4 separate regions of the Homo sapiens genome follow, and all the other regions are linked to region 4. The links are contacts of gene promoters, found by promoter capture Hi-C in blood cells and fetal thymus (Javierre and others, 2016). All regions are on one chromosome and are shown on one strand. The core of a region is centred on a gene start or on the middle of the fragment in contact, and the rest is flanking DNA. Distances in the headings are between cores, read along the strand shown. Region 1 overlaps EDRF1 (erythroid differentiation regulatory factor 1). Region 2 overlaps CHST15 (carbohydrate sulfotransferase 15). Region 3 has its middle 91 kb from the start of CPXM2. Region 4 holds the start of ABRAXAS2 (abraxas 2, BRISC complex subunit).

Evidence for each region. Contacts are between HindIII fragments. The CHiCAGO score rates a contact against its expected background, and 5 or more counts as called.
Region 1: a fragment that was not itself captured here is called in contact with the fragment with the promoter of ABRAXAS2 in region 4 in 2 of 17 cell types (monocytes and neutrophils); the score reaches 6.5 in monocytes.
Region 2: a fragment that was not itself captured here is called in contact with the fragment with the promoter of ABRAXAS2 in region 4 in 1 of 17 cell types (naive B cells); the score reaches 5.1 in naive B cells.
Region 3: a contact is called between a fragment that was not itself captured here and the fragment with the promoter of ABRAXAS2 in region 4, in 1 of 17 cell types (naive B cells). The highest score is 8.7, in naive B cells.

Annotation. Positions count from the first base shown.
Region 1 is chr10:125,723,431-125,726,273 of GRCh38, reverse strand. EDRF1 (erythroid differentiation regulatory factor 1) reads right to left here. Exons shown (of 25, transcript NM_001202438.2): 4 at 2,338-2,463; 5 at 832-956; 6 at 436-592. Among named protein-coding and RNA genes, the nearest start is that of EDRF1, 5.1 kb to the right of the region's middle. The HindIII fragment of the contact is 1,424 bases long and covers 769-2,192 here.
Region 2 is chr10:124,009,771-124,012,733 of GRCh38, reverse strand. CHST15 (carbohydrate sulfotransferase 15) reads left to right here. Exons shown (of 8, transcript NM_001270764.2): 7 at 254-401; 8 at 2,395-2,963. The coding sequence ends at 2,585. Among named protein-coding and RNA genes, the nearest start is that of CHST15, 82 kb to the left of the region's middle. The HindIII fragment of the contact is 4,917 bases long and covers 1-2,963 here.
Region 3 is chr10:123,981,633-123,984,332 of GRCh38, reverse strand. No RefSeq gene overlaps it. Among named protein-coding and RNA genes, the nearest start is that of CPXM2, 91 kb to the right of the region's middle. The HindIII fragment of the contact is 4,167 bases long and covers 1-2,700 here.
Region 4 is chr10:124,800,261-124,803,107 of GRCh38, reverse strand. It overlaps ABRAXAS2 (abraxas 2, BRISC complex subunit), which reads right to left and starts at 1,289. Exons shown (of 9, transcript NM_032182.4): 1 at 1,207-1,289. The coding sequence starts at 1,278. RefSeq lists a silencer at 1,014-1,093 and enhancers at 582-1,135, 1,194-1,463, 1,136-1,690. The HindIII fragment of the contact is 5,454 bases long and covers 1-1,845 here.

The DNA.
Region 1 (2,843 bases), core at 231-2,730, 920 kb before region 4:
TTAAATTACAAATGGGTCTCTGAGTCTCAATATTTGGTAGGAAATGTCTATCAAATATTGACAGATATTTATAGTTAAAATAGTATTTATAGTTAAAAATGACTAGTATTTATAATTAAAATATACTATATCTCTATATAATACTCATCACTTGAAGGAGATAATCAGTATTAATAAACATATCAGTCAACTATTATATTTCGATTTAATAAAAAAATCTGATCTCCCCACCTATAATAGCTCTTGTAAATTCTATTGCGAAAAACTAAAAAGTATTTCTCCAATTCCATAAATTGACAGAAGTCTTTTTTCCCCCATTCCATAAGCTGACAGAATATTTCTTAGTCCTGTTCATCTTTTTTTTTTTTTAACGAGATGTTAAAAAAGGCTTTGTTTTCCTATGTGAGTTTCTAGAATTAGCATTTAAGTACTAACCTGACTGGAAGCACTGGGATCTTCAGAAACTGAAGAAGGCATTTCGAAGGGAGCAGGCCATGAAGCCCCTTCCGAATCATTTGTCTGATCTGAACTGGACGATTCCTGCTGTTCTGCGGTGGATGAGACAGGCTGAGCGGCTCCATCACCATTGATACTGGCCAAACCAGAAATAAAAAAGGATTGCTGTTACTAAAGTTAACTTCATGCAACAGTCTACCCGTTTATAAAAACTACAATCTGTAATTAAGCATACATCTTGTAAAAAAGAAATATGAAACAAATGTTAACAGTATCACAGGGGCAAAACTTAAATTATAACTTCATTAAGCTTCACACTAAATTTTAGATCAGAATTCCCTTTTTCTCTTTAGAGATAAATAAGTAGCCAAGTACCTGTAATATAAAAACTTGGAAAGAATTGCCTTTTGATACCAGTGCTCTTTGCTCTTTTTCTTCCTCTGCCACTTCTGATCAATGAGTCTTTGATAAAACTCTTTCAACCATGTCCAGTCACCAGTCTGGATAACATGAGATACATATTATTAATACAACACACATAGTCGAAACAATGTTACCTAGTACTAGCTTACAGAAAAGGCTCCTATTATTTTTTGAATAGTTTCATAAACACATACTCATTAAAAACATATCTTTCTGGGTCAATTCATACCACCTTTCTTTTGTTTTTTGTTTCCTAAAGGAAACCCGTCTTCCTCCTCCTAAGCCAGGCTGGGAGAGGTGAGTCTTCTCTATAACATGTTCCTTAGCAGCTGCAGTAGTTCCCACTTTGCACACTATATTGAAATGATCTGTGTATGTGTTTATAACCCCAAACAATGAACTGCTGAGGAGCAAGGCCTGTGATTTGTTCACTGTCACATCCCCGTGCCTAGGCTCATACTCACATGATGAACTAAACGGTGGTCTTTTCAAAGGAAAAAAGCACTTATTTTAAATGTCATTTACCTCACCATAATTTAATTTTCTTTATCAAAGCACTGTAGTAATATTCTTTAAAGACTGACCATGAACTATTTCTTGCCAGCCCAAGAAAAGTACAGATATGGAGGGTAGTTCTTGAGAAACTGCAACAATGTTATTATGTTTTTCAAAAGTATCCATTCTCAACATGTGGGAAAAACAGTCCTTACCAACATACAATTTGAGAATCTAGGCTAAAGAGCATCAATTAATTCTAATAACTACAGCCATGTGTCATTTAACAATGGGGATATATTCTGAGAAGCGCGTCATTAGGTGATTTTGTCCTGGTGTGAACATCGCAGAGTGTTACTTATAGAAACCTGGATGGTACAGCCTACTCCCTACCTAGGTCATACGGTATAGCCTATTGCTCCCAGGCTACAAATCTGTACATGTGACTGAAGTATTTGTGTATCTGAACACTGCAAATACAGTAAAAATACAGTATATTATAATCTTATGGGACCACCGGTATATGCAGTCCATCGCTGACTGAAACGTCATTATGGGAACATGACTGTATTTATTCATAGGAACAGCTTCTAATATTTTTCACATTTTCCAGTAGCTGTGTTTCCTGAGAATCTGTTTAAGGGAGACGTTAAAGGATTCTTAAAAATATTAAACTAGTCCCTTAAATTTCACAGTTTTTTTCACAACTTTCTTCATTGGCTTCATCTTTTTTCTTGTAAAAAAGAATCTGGCTGTTGGAATCAATAAAATAATTTTCTTCACCATTCTCATTCTCTTCTTTTTTCTTCATTCAAGCTTTTCTATCTTCAGTGAAACTTTCAATTTCTCGATTGTTGAAGTACTCAACTACATTTCCACTTTGGCCATTCTCTGAAACAAAATCGTATTTCTAGTGCTCTTAAGCTGTTAATGTTTTGTTGGATTTTTTCACAAAAGCATTACCTGAGACGATCTCATAAAGAGTTCTTGAATATCTAGCTCATCTAGTAAGAGAGTCCTTCCTATGCGGTGTACTGCCATGCTCACGTGCGACTTGCTGTAGGGAATTTTCAGGAGTTTTTTTATGTTCTTAAAAAATTAAGAGAAAAAATAGTTTAGAAAGACTGTTTTAGTGTGATTTGGAATCTTTTAAATTTTAGCTTCATTCATTTTAAAGCATAATAAACCTTATTTCCTTAAGGTTATACAAATAGAACTTTAAACAAAAAGCTACATGCAAACACACAGAGGACGGAGCTTTCAAACCAGAATCACGTACACTTTATGAGTCACATTATGTTAGTGACAGTCAAACATTTATTTTTACATGATAGGATTTCTTAAAGTTAAGGGTGTATACGTCACACTGTTATGCTGACCCAGGCTTTTAGCATATCAGATCAAAGCCACTAAGGATCCAATAGATTTTACTAGAAATATCATTTGTAACTCAACTGGTAACATATACA
Region 2 (2,963 bases), core at 228-2,727, 790 kb after region 4:
ATGGAGGCATGGCGCTACCCACAGGGTGTTGTGAGGATGAAATGCAACCCCTAATATAGGAATTCTTTGCACATGTAGCACAAAACCCCCCATAAAGAAGCAAGAACACCTTGTGTTAAAATCCAGCTTCTGAAAGTAACTTTGCTAGGATAACTCTTTTGTGGTACAGTGAAATGCCATACCACTTTGGAAAAGTGCCCTATGGTGTTGGGGCAACTGCTCCTGAAATAATGCCCTTCTTCTGTGGTCCTAGGTGAGGCTCCAGGTTGGGCTCTATGCTGTGTACCTTCTGGACTGGCTCAGCGTTTTTGACAAGCAACAGTTTCTCATTCTTCGCCTGGAAGATCATGCATCCAACGTCAAGTACACCATGCACAAGGTCTTCCAGTTTCTGAACCTAGGTATGAGTGTGGTGCTTAGACTGACGGGCCAAAGCATGAGCTCCGTGGACTTGTTCTGGGAGTCCTCTGGGGCAAATGCAGACCTGGTCAGCTGGGTGGGAATGGGCTGAGCTGGGAGGCCTGGGGATGTCCTTCAGGAGGCCTGTTAAGTACCATTTATTGAGCACTAGCTGTACATAGGTCATTGTGCACAGTATGGTGAGGGATTCTCTGGAGAGAAGGAGATGGTTTCCCTTCTGGGAGCTTATGGTCTAGTGAAGGGAGAGGAGGAAGCCATAGCTCACCTAACTGAATGACAGGTAGGATGCCGTGGGGAAGGTCAGCACTGTCATGTAAGGTATGTGCTGATGGTTTGGGATCCCAGCTACTGCACGGATGAGGAAGGCTTCATGGAAGGAAAGGGCCTGAGAGCTGAGCTTTGTAGGACCAACAGGATGTCACCGGGGGGCTGGAGCAGAGGACTTGGGGCTTAGAGGAGGGAACAGACAGATCATTGCATCATCTCCGGTATTCTTGGAAATTCCAGGAGTCAGAGCCGTGTGGCTGAGTTTTGGCTGCTGATCATGGATGCTGGGCCCCTGGGGCATGAGCGCCTGCCCTCAGCCTGTGGATACCAGCCCCCCCAGGGGCCTGAGAGTCACTTTGTGGTGACAGGCCACACTGCTGACTATGGTGATGGCTGGCAGAGGCATGTGCTGGCGGAGCGAGTGCTGCCCATGTGGACGGGGCACCGAGGGATGGCTTGAAAGGCTGAGCAGGCTCGAACAAGCCGCCCTCCTTCCCAGAACGCCTCCTGCAGCCCTGACTAATGGTCTTGCCCGGGAACTTGGTTAATTGAGTATTTCTGAAAATATATCTGCCTGCCACTGGGACTTGGGCCTCTTTGATCATTTGATTTTGTTTCTCCTTTTTTTGGAGTTTGATGAGTTCTTTCCCTTCCAAGGCTTAGAATCATCTTTCTTTGATTTGACCACATGTTGACTCTGTCCCATTAATGAGCTTGTCTTTTGTCCCCAAGATGGATAGTAAGGCCAATTCTGTGTTTCATATGGCCCTAGGATGCTGGGACATGCTTTTTCTGTCTATGGGCTAAGGACTTTGGCCAGATCCCAAGAGCCCCCGGTAAAGAGGCTTGAGCAGTGATGGGTTACACCAAGAAGCTGTGGCCCAGAGGGCGGGGCGTTGGGGTCGCAGCCCTTGCTGTTCTGTTTCAGGGCCTCTCACTCCAGAGGGCGGGGCGTGTGCGTGACTGACAGCCCCTCCCGGCCTTTTCCAGGGCCTCTCCTCACTCCAGAGGGCGGGGCGTGGCGGTGACTGACAACCTCTGCCAGCCTGTTCCAGGGCCTCGCCTCACTCCAGAGGGCGGGGCGTGGGGGTGACTGACAGCCCTTGCCGGCAGGCCTCTTCTCCCTGATCTCCTTGCTGCAGATGGAGGTTCAGCCAGTGGGGGCTCTGGGCACAAGTGGCCTCCTCCCAGCCCTCCTCCCTATGGCCACTTCACAGCAAGACGCACAGGGTGAAACTGTGCAGGCCCAGGGACCTTGGCATGAGCAGCCTGAAGTAGAAACGATGATGGCGGAATTCCAGAGGGCTGCTGAGCAGGAAAACCGAAACCCGTGGGCTGTGCTCGGCAGGCCGCACGTTCCTCCAAGGACGGGCTGACACCCATGGAGAGCAGCCCACCAAGGGCAATTGGAAGGGAATCCTTGAGGTCAGCCTTAGACGCTGTATCATCATTAAATGCCAGCTGGGCTCCCCCGAGGGTGGGCATCCTGCACCCGCCGCAGAATTTCTTCGCAATTTCCTGATGGTGTTTCCACCTTCCTCCCTCAGTGCTTCCAAAATGGATCCAGCCAAAGAATTTTAATCCCTAAATATGTTCTCTTAAAGGAAACTCCTGTCTGAATACGAAGCATAGCTGGGATTTTTGCAAAGTCCCTTTTACTTCCTGCCATGCCTCCTGCCTTACGGGACTCGTCTTCTTTTATTCTAGGGCCCTTAAGTGAGAAGCAGGAGGCTTTGATGACCAAGAGCCCCGCATCCAATGCACGGCGTCCCGAGGACCGGAACCTGGGGCCCATGTGGCCCATCACACAGAAGATTCTGCGGGATTTCTACAGGCCCTTCAACGCTAGGCTGGCGCAGGTCCTCGCGGATGAGGCGTTTGCGTGGAAGACGACGTGAGAGCTGAATTGTTGCTGCACGTGCTGGGCCCGCCAATGCCGTCATCATCAGGATTTTACAAATCTCTTTGCGGGGAACTGTTTCACTCATGGTATGGAAAACCCCAGGACTCTGCCACTCTAGGCACACATGAATTATAACCATTTTGGAATTTCCTTCGTGATGTTCGAGAGCTCAGCAATGGACCCCTCACAGAGCTCCTCTATCCGAGGCCATTGGAGACCCCAGTTTCTCAAGAATTCAGCTCTGCTCTGAGCGTCCTGGAGCTTGGGGATGCAGCCAGCTGGCCTGCACTGGGTGTGGAGAGAACACCTAGGGAAGGCAGCCTGGCCCTGCCCGCCTCCGCCTTCTGGAGAGCCTCTGGGTTCTGAGTCAGCA
Region 3 (2,700 bases), core at 71-2,570, 820 kb after region 4:
CAAGTAGCTGGGACTACAGGTGCTTGCCACCAGGCCCAGCTAATTTTTTTGTATTTTTTTAGTAGAGACAGGGTTTCACCATGTAAGCCAGGATGGTCTCAATCTCCTGAACTCGTGATCCGCCCTCCTCAGCCTCCCAAAGTGCTGGGATTACAGGCATGAGCCACTGCACCCGGCTTCTTTTTTTTTTTTTTCAACTTTTATTTTAGTTTCAGAGGTATATGTGCAGGTTGATTCTAGGGATAAATTGCATGTTGTGGGGATTTGGCGTACATATTACTTCATCACCCAGGTAATAGGCATAGTACCTGATAGGTAGTTTTTTTGGTCCTCACCCTTCTCTCATTCCTCACCCTCCAATCGGCCCCCAGTGTCTATTGTTCACTTCTTTGTGTCCATGTATACTCAATGTTTAGCTTCCACTTACAAGTGAGAATACATGATGTTTGGTGTTTTGTTCCTGCATTAATGTGCCTAGGATAATTGCCTCCAGCTCCATCCATGTTCCTGCAAAGAACAGATCTTGTTCTTTTTAATGGCTGTGTAGTATTCCATGGTGTATACGTACCACATTTTCTTTATTCAGTCTACAATTGATGGGCATTTAGGTTGATTTCTTGTCTTTGCTATTGTGAATAGTGCTGCAATGAACACATGTTTGCATGTGTCTTTATAGTAGAGTGATTTATATTCCTTTGAGTATAAACCCAATAATGGGATGGCTGGGTCAAATGGTAGTTCTGTTTTAAGTTCTTTGAGAAATCACCGAACTGCTTTTCTACTACAGTGGTTGAACTAATTTGCATTCTCATTAGCAGTGTATAAGTTTTCTCTTTTCTCTACAGCCTTGCCAGCATCTGTTATTTTTTGATTTTTTAGTAATAGCCATTCTGACTGGTTTGAGATGGTCATTTCATTGTGGTTTTGATTAGCATGTCTCTAATGATTAGTGATGTTGAATATTTTTTTGTATGCTTGTTGATTACATATATGTCTTCTTTTGAAAAGCGTCTGTTCATGTCCTTTGCCAACTTTTTAATCGGGTTGCTTGTTTTTTGCTTGTTAGTTCTTTTAAGTTCCTTATAGTGTCTGGATATTAGACCTTTGTCAGATGCATAGTTTGTAAATATTTTCTCCCATTCTGTGGGTTGTCTATTTACTCGGTTTTACAGTTTCTTTTGCTGTGCAGAAGCTCTTTAGTTGAATTAGGTCCTATTTGTCCATTTCAATTTTTGTTGCAATTGCTTTTGGCATTTTTGTCATAAAATCTTTGTCAGGGCCTATCTCTACAGTGGTATTTCCTAGGTTTTCTTCAAGGCTTTTTATAGTTTTAGGTTTTACATTTACATTTTTAATTTTGAGTTGATTTTTGTATATGGTGTAAAAAAGGGGTCCAGTTTCAATCTTCTGCATATGGATAACCACTTATCCCAGCACCATTTGTGGAACAAAGAGTCCTTTCCCCATTGCTTTTTTGTTGTTGCTGATTTTGTCCAAGATCAGATGGCTGTAGCTCTAAGGCTTTATTTCTGGGCTCTCTATTGTGTTCCATCAGTCTATGTGTCTATTTTGTACATGCTGTGGTGGTTACTGTAGACTTGTAGTATAGTTTGAAGTAGGGTAATGTGATGTTTCCAGCTTTGTTCTTTTTGCTTAGGATTGTGTTGTCTATTTGGGCTCTTTCTTTCGTTCCATATAAGTTTTAGAATAGTTTTGACTAAGTCTGTGAAGAATGTCATTGGTAGTTTGATAGGAATAGCATTAAATCTGTAAATTATTTTGGGCAATATTGCCATTTTAACAATATTGATTCTTCCTATCCATGGACATGGAATGTTTTTTCATTTGTTTGTGTCATCTTTGATTTCTTTCAGTAGGTTTTGTAATTCTGGTTGTAGAGATCTTTCACCTACCTGGTTAGCTGTATTCCTAGGTATTTCATTCCTTTTGTGGCTATTGTGAATGGGATTGTGTTCTTGATTTGGCACTCAACTTGGATGATATTGATGTACAGAAATGCTGCCAATTTTTGTACATTGGTTTTGTATCTGGAAACTTGGCTAAAGTTGTTTATCAGGTCTAGGAGCTTTTGGGCAGAGGCTGGGGTTTTCTAGGTATAAAATCATATTGTCTGCCAACAGAAAGTTTGACTTCCTCCATGGATGCTTTTTATTTCTTTCTCTTTCCTGACTGCTCTGGCTAGGACTTCTTGTACTATGTTGAAAAGGAGTGGTAAGAGTGGGCATCTTTGCCTTGTTCTGGTTCTCAAAGGGAATGCTTCCAGCTTTTGCCCATTCAGTATGATGTTGGCTGTGGGTTTGTCGAAAATGGCTCTTATTATTTTGAAACATGTTCCTTCAATGCCTACTTTGTTGAGGGTGTTTAACAGGAAGGGATGCTGAATTTTATTAAAAGCCTTTTCTGCATTTATTGAGATTACCGTGTGGTTTTTGCCTTTAGTTCAGTTTATGTGATGAATACATCTATTGATTTGTGTGTGTTGACCCAACTTTGTATGCCAGGGAAAGCCTACTTGATTGTTATGGATTGGCTTTTTGATGGGCTTTGGATTTGGTTTGCTAGTATTTTGTTGATGATTTTTGCATCTATGTTCAAGGATATTGTCCTGAAGTCTTTTTTTTGTTGTTGTTGGGTCTTTGCCAGGTTTGGTACTGGAATGATGCTGGCCTCACAGAATGA
Region 4 (2,847 bases), core at 40-2,539:
ACACTAGGGGTATCACAAACCCTTACATATGGAACTATATTACATTATTAAATAGCTGGTTGTAGTACCCTAGGCCATAGTCTTCAAAGCTGCTTCTGGAAAAACCCATGATGTATATATTCCTATTCCTATCATTAAGTTCTACCATCAACACTGAAGAGATGAAAGGTACAATAATTTAATTGCATTCAATTTACTAATGGAATCACCTCCCTGTGAAATCAGTTTTTATTAATGGAAGCTAAGATTGCTGACATCAAACCAAATGCAGTTCCTCCTTCTGCAGTGTACCATTTTGCTTTGTAATGACAACCAAAAACCCCACACATAGGTTTAATGAGTTTGAATCATTCACTATTAACATCACTTAAAATAATCCCCCAATTTGGTGGCCAAATTATATACCTCCTTTAAGAGAGAAGTGATCTAGTTTCACAAAGCATTTCCAATCAGAGGCCAATGACGTTAAAAGACAATTTGTAAAATAAAGACACTGAAACAGACAGGATCTGCTCCTCCTGTGGGCTCACAGCCTATGCATTTCCCATCACTCAGTAGTGGGCCTGTCACTTCCCTATTTCACTGTGACTAGTGAAAGAACTAGTCACAAAGAACTAAACACGCAACTTCAAGGAAATACAAAATAGACCCTGCACCGAACGCTCCTGTATACATTCTCCATTTTGCATCAGGGCGAAGAAAACACACAACCGTGTCTAACAAGTATCAGTAGTGACAGCCACGGTTTCACTCGCAGCACCCCCACGACAACCTGCGAGACCGGCGGGCGGGGCTGAGTACCTCGCCTACTGGACTAAACGCCCGGCCTTTAGATTCCTTCCCGACCCCGTGCGCCCCTCTTAAGTCTAGAAGCCTGACTTTCAGGGAGGGGCAGGCGCTCGGTTTCCACCGAGCGACTCCTGACACTGCAGGAGGCCAGGTGGGACAGTTTTGCTGCACGGGAGACGGCTGTGCCGGGACGGCCGAGCGGCTGAGAGCGCGAAGCCAGGGGGCCTGTCCCAGGGGCGAAGGAGCCCCCAGAGGCAAGAGCTCACCGGGGGCGGGAGCCGCCCGGGTCACCAGCTCCTCCGGCCGGCCCTGGTGCCCAGGGGGCGAGCCGCATGAGGTCCCGGCTTGGCCGCGAGCGCCGGCCTGAGACAGAGGCTGAAAGCCCCCAGCGGGCGCGGCAGGGGGCCCGGCACCTACGTGGTCCGCGTTGCTGTTGGCGCTGTGGAAACACACAGCACTGAAGGTGTAGCCCGAAATGGACGCCGCCATGATGGAAATCTCCAGCTACCCCATCATGCCCCGCGGAGGGCACACGGCCTTCCGGACGGCCCGACCCCTTGGCATCATGGGAAGTGGAGTCTGCGGCGGGCAGCGGCCGAGGGCCCTGAGCGCTCACAGTCTTGAAGGCTGAGGAACGCCGGTTTTTGCGATCGGAAGGACCCCGGCACCGTATCCTCCGCAGGGGTGTCGCTCCCGACACGCCTCAGACAGCGGTTGATAGTTCCGCAAACAGTTCTTTCCCTTTGCAAGTGAAACCTTAGTATTAAAAGACAACATTCTAGCCGGGCGCAGTGGCTCACGCCTGTAATCCCAGCACTTTGGGAGGCCGAGGCGGGCGGATCACCTGAGGTCAGGAGTTCGAGACCAGCCTGACCAACATGGAGAAACCCTGTCTATATTGAAAATACAAAAACTAGCCGGGCGTGGTGGCACATGCCTGTAATCTCAGCTACTCGGGAGGCTGAGGGAGGGGAATGGCTTGAACCCGGGAGGCGGAGGTTGCGGTGAGTCGAGATCGTGCCATTGCACTCCAGCCTGGGCAGCAAGAGCGAAGCTTCGTCTCAAAAAAAAAAAAAAAAAAAAAAAAAAAAGGCCAACATTTAGGCTGAGCGTGGTGGCTCGCGCCTGTAATCCCAGCACTTTGGGAGGCCGAGGTGGGCGGATCACGAGGTCAGGAGTTTGAGACCATCCTGGCTTACACGGTGAAACCCCGTCTCTACTAAAAATACAAAAAATTAGCCGGACGTGGTGGCGGGCTCCTGTAGTCCCAGCTACTCAGGAGGCTGAGGCAGGAGAATGGCGTGAACCTGGAAGGCGGAGCTTGCAGTGAGCCGAGATCGCGCCACTGCACTCCAGCCTGGGTGACAGACCAAGACTCCGTCTCAAAAACAAAACAAAACAAAAAGCCAACATTTGAGGCCGGGCGCGGTGGCTCATGCCTGTAATCCCAGCACTTTGGGAGGGGGGGGCGTGTGTGGGGAGTGTTAACCTGAGGTCAGGAGTGTTATGCGCGTTTGTGTGAAGAGACCACCAAACAGGCTTTGTGTGAGCAACAAGGCTGTTTATTTCAACTGGGTGCAGGCGGGCTGAGTCCGAAAAGAGAGTCAGCAAGGGAGATAGGGGTGGGGCCGATTTATAGGATTTGGGTAGGTAGTGGAAAATTACAGTCAAAGGGGGTTGTTCTCTGGTGGGAAGGGGCGGGGGTTACAAGGTGCTCAGTCGGGGAGCTTCTAAGCCAGGAGAAGGAATTTCACAAGGTAATGTCATCAGTTAAGGCAGGAACCGGTCATTTTCACTTCTTTTGTGATTCTTCAGTTACTTCAGGCCATCTGGATGTATACGTGCAGGCCACAGGGGATATGATGGCTTAGCTTGGGCTCAGAGGCCTGACAAGGAGTTCAAGACCAGCCTGGCCAACATGGTGAGACCCTGCCCACTCCCCTCTGCCCATCTCTATTGAAAATACAAAAACTAGCCGGGCATTCTGGTGCATGCCTGTAATCTCAGCTACTCAGGAGGCTGAGGCATGAGAATCGCTTGAACCCGGGAGACAGAGAT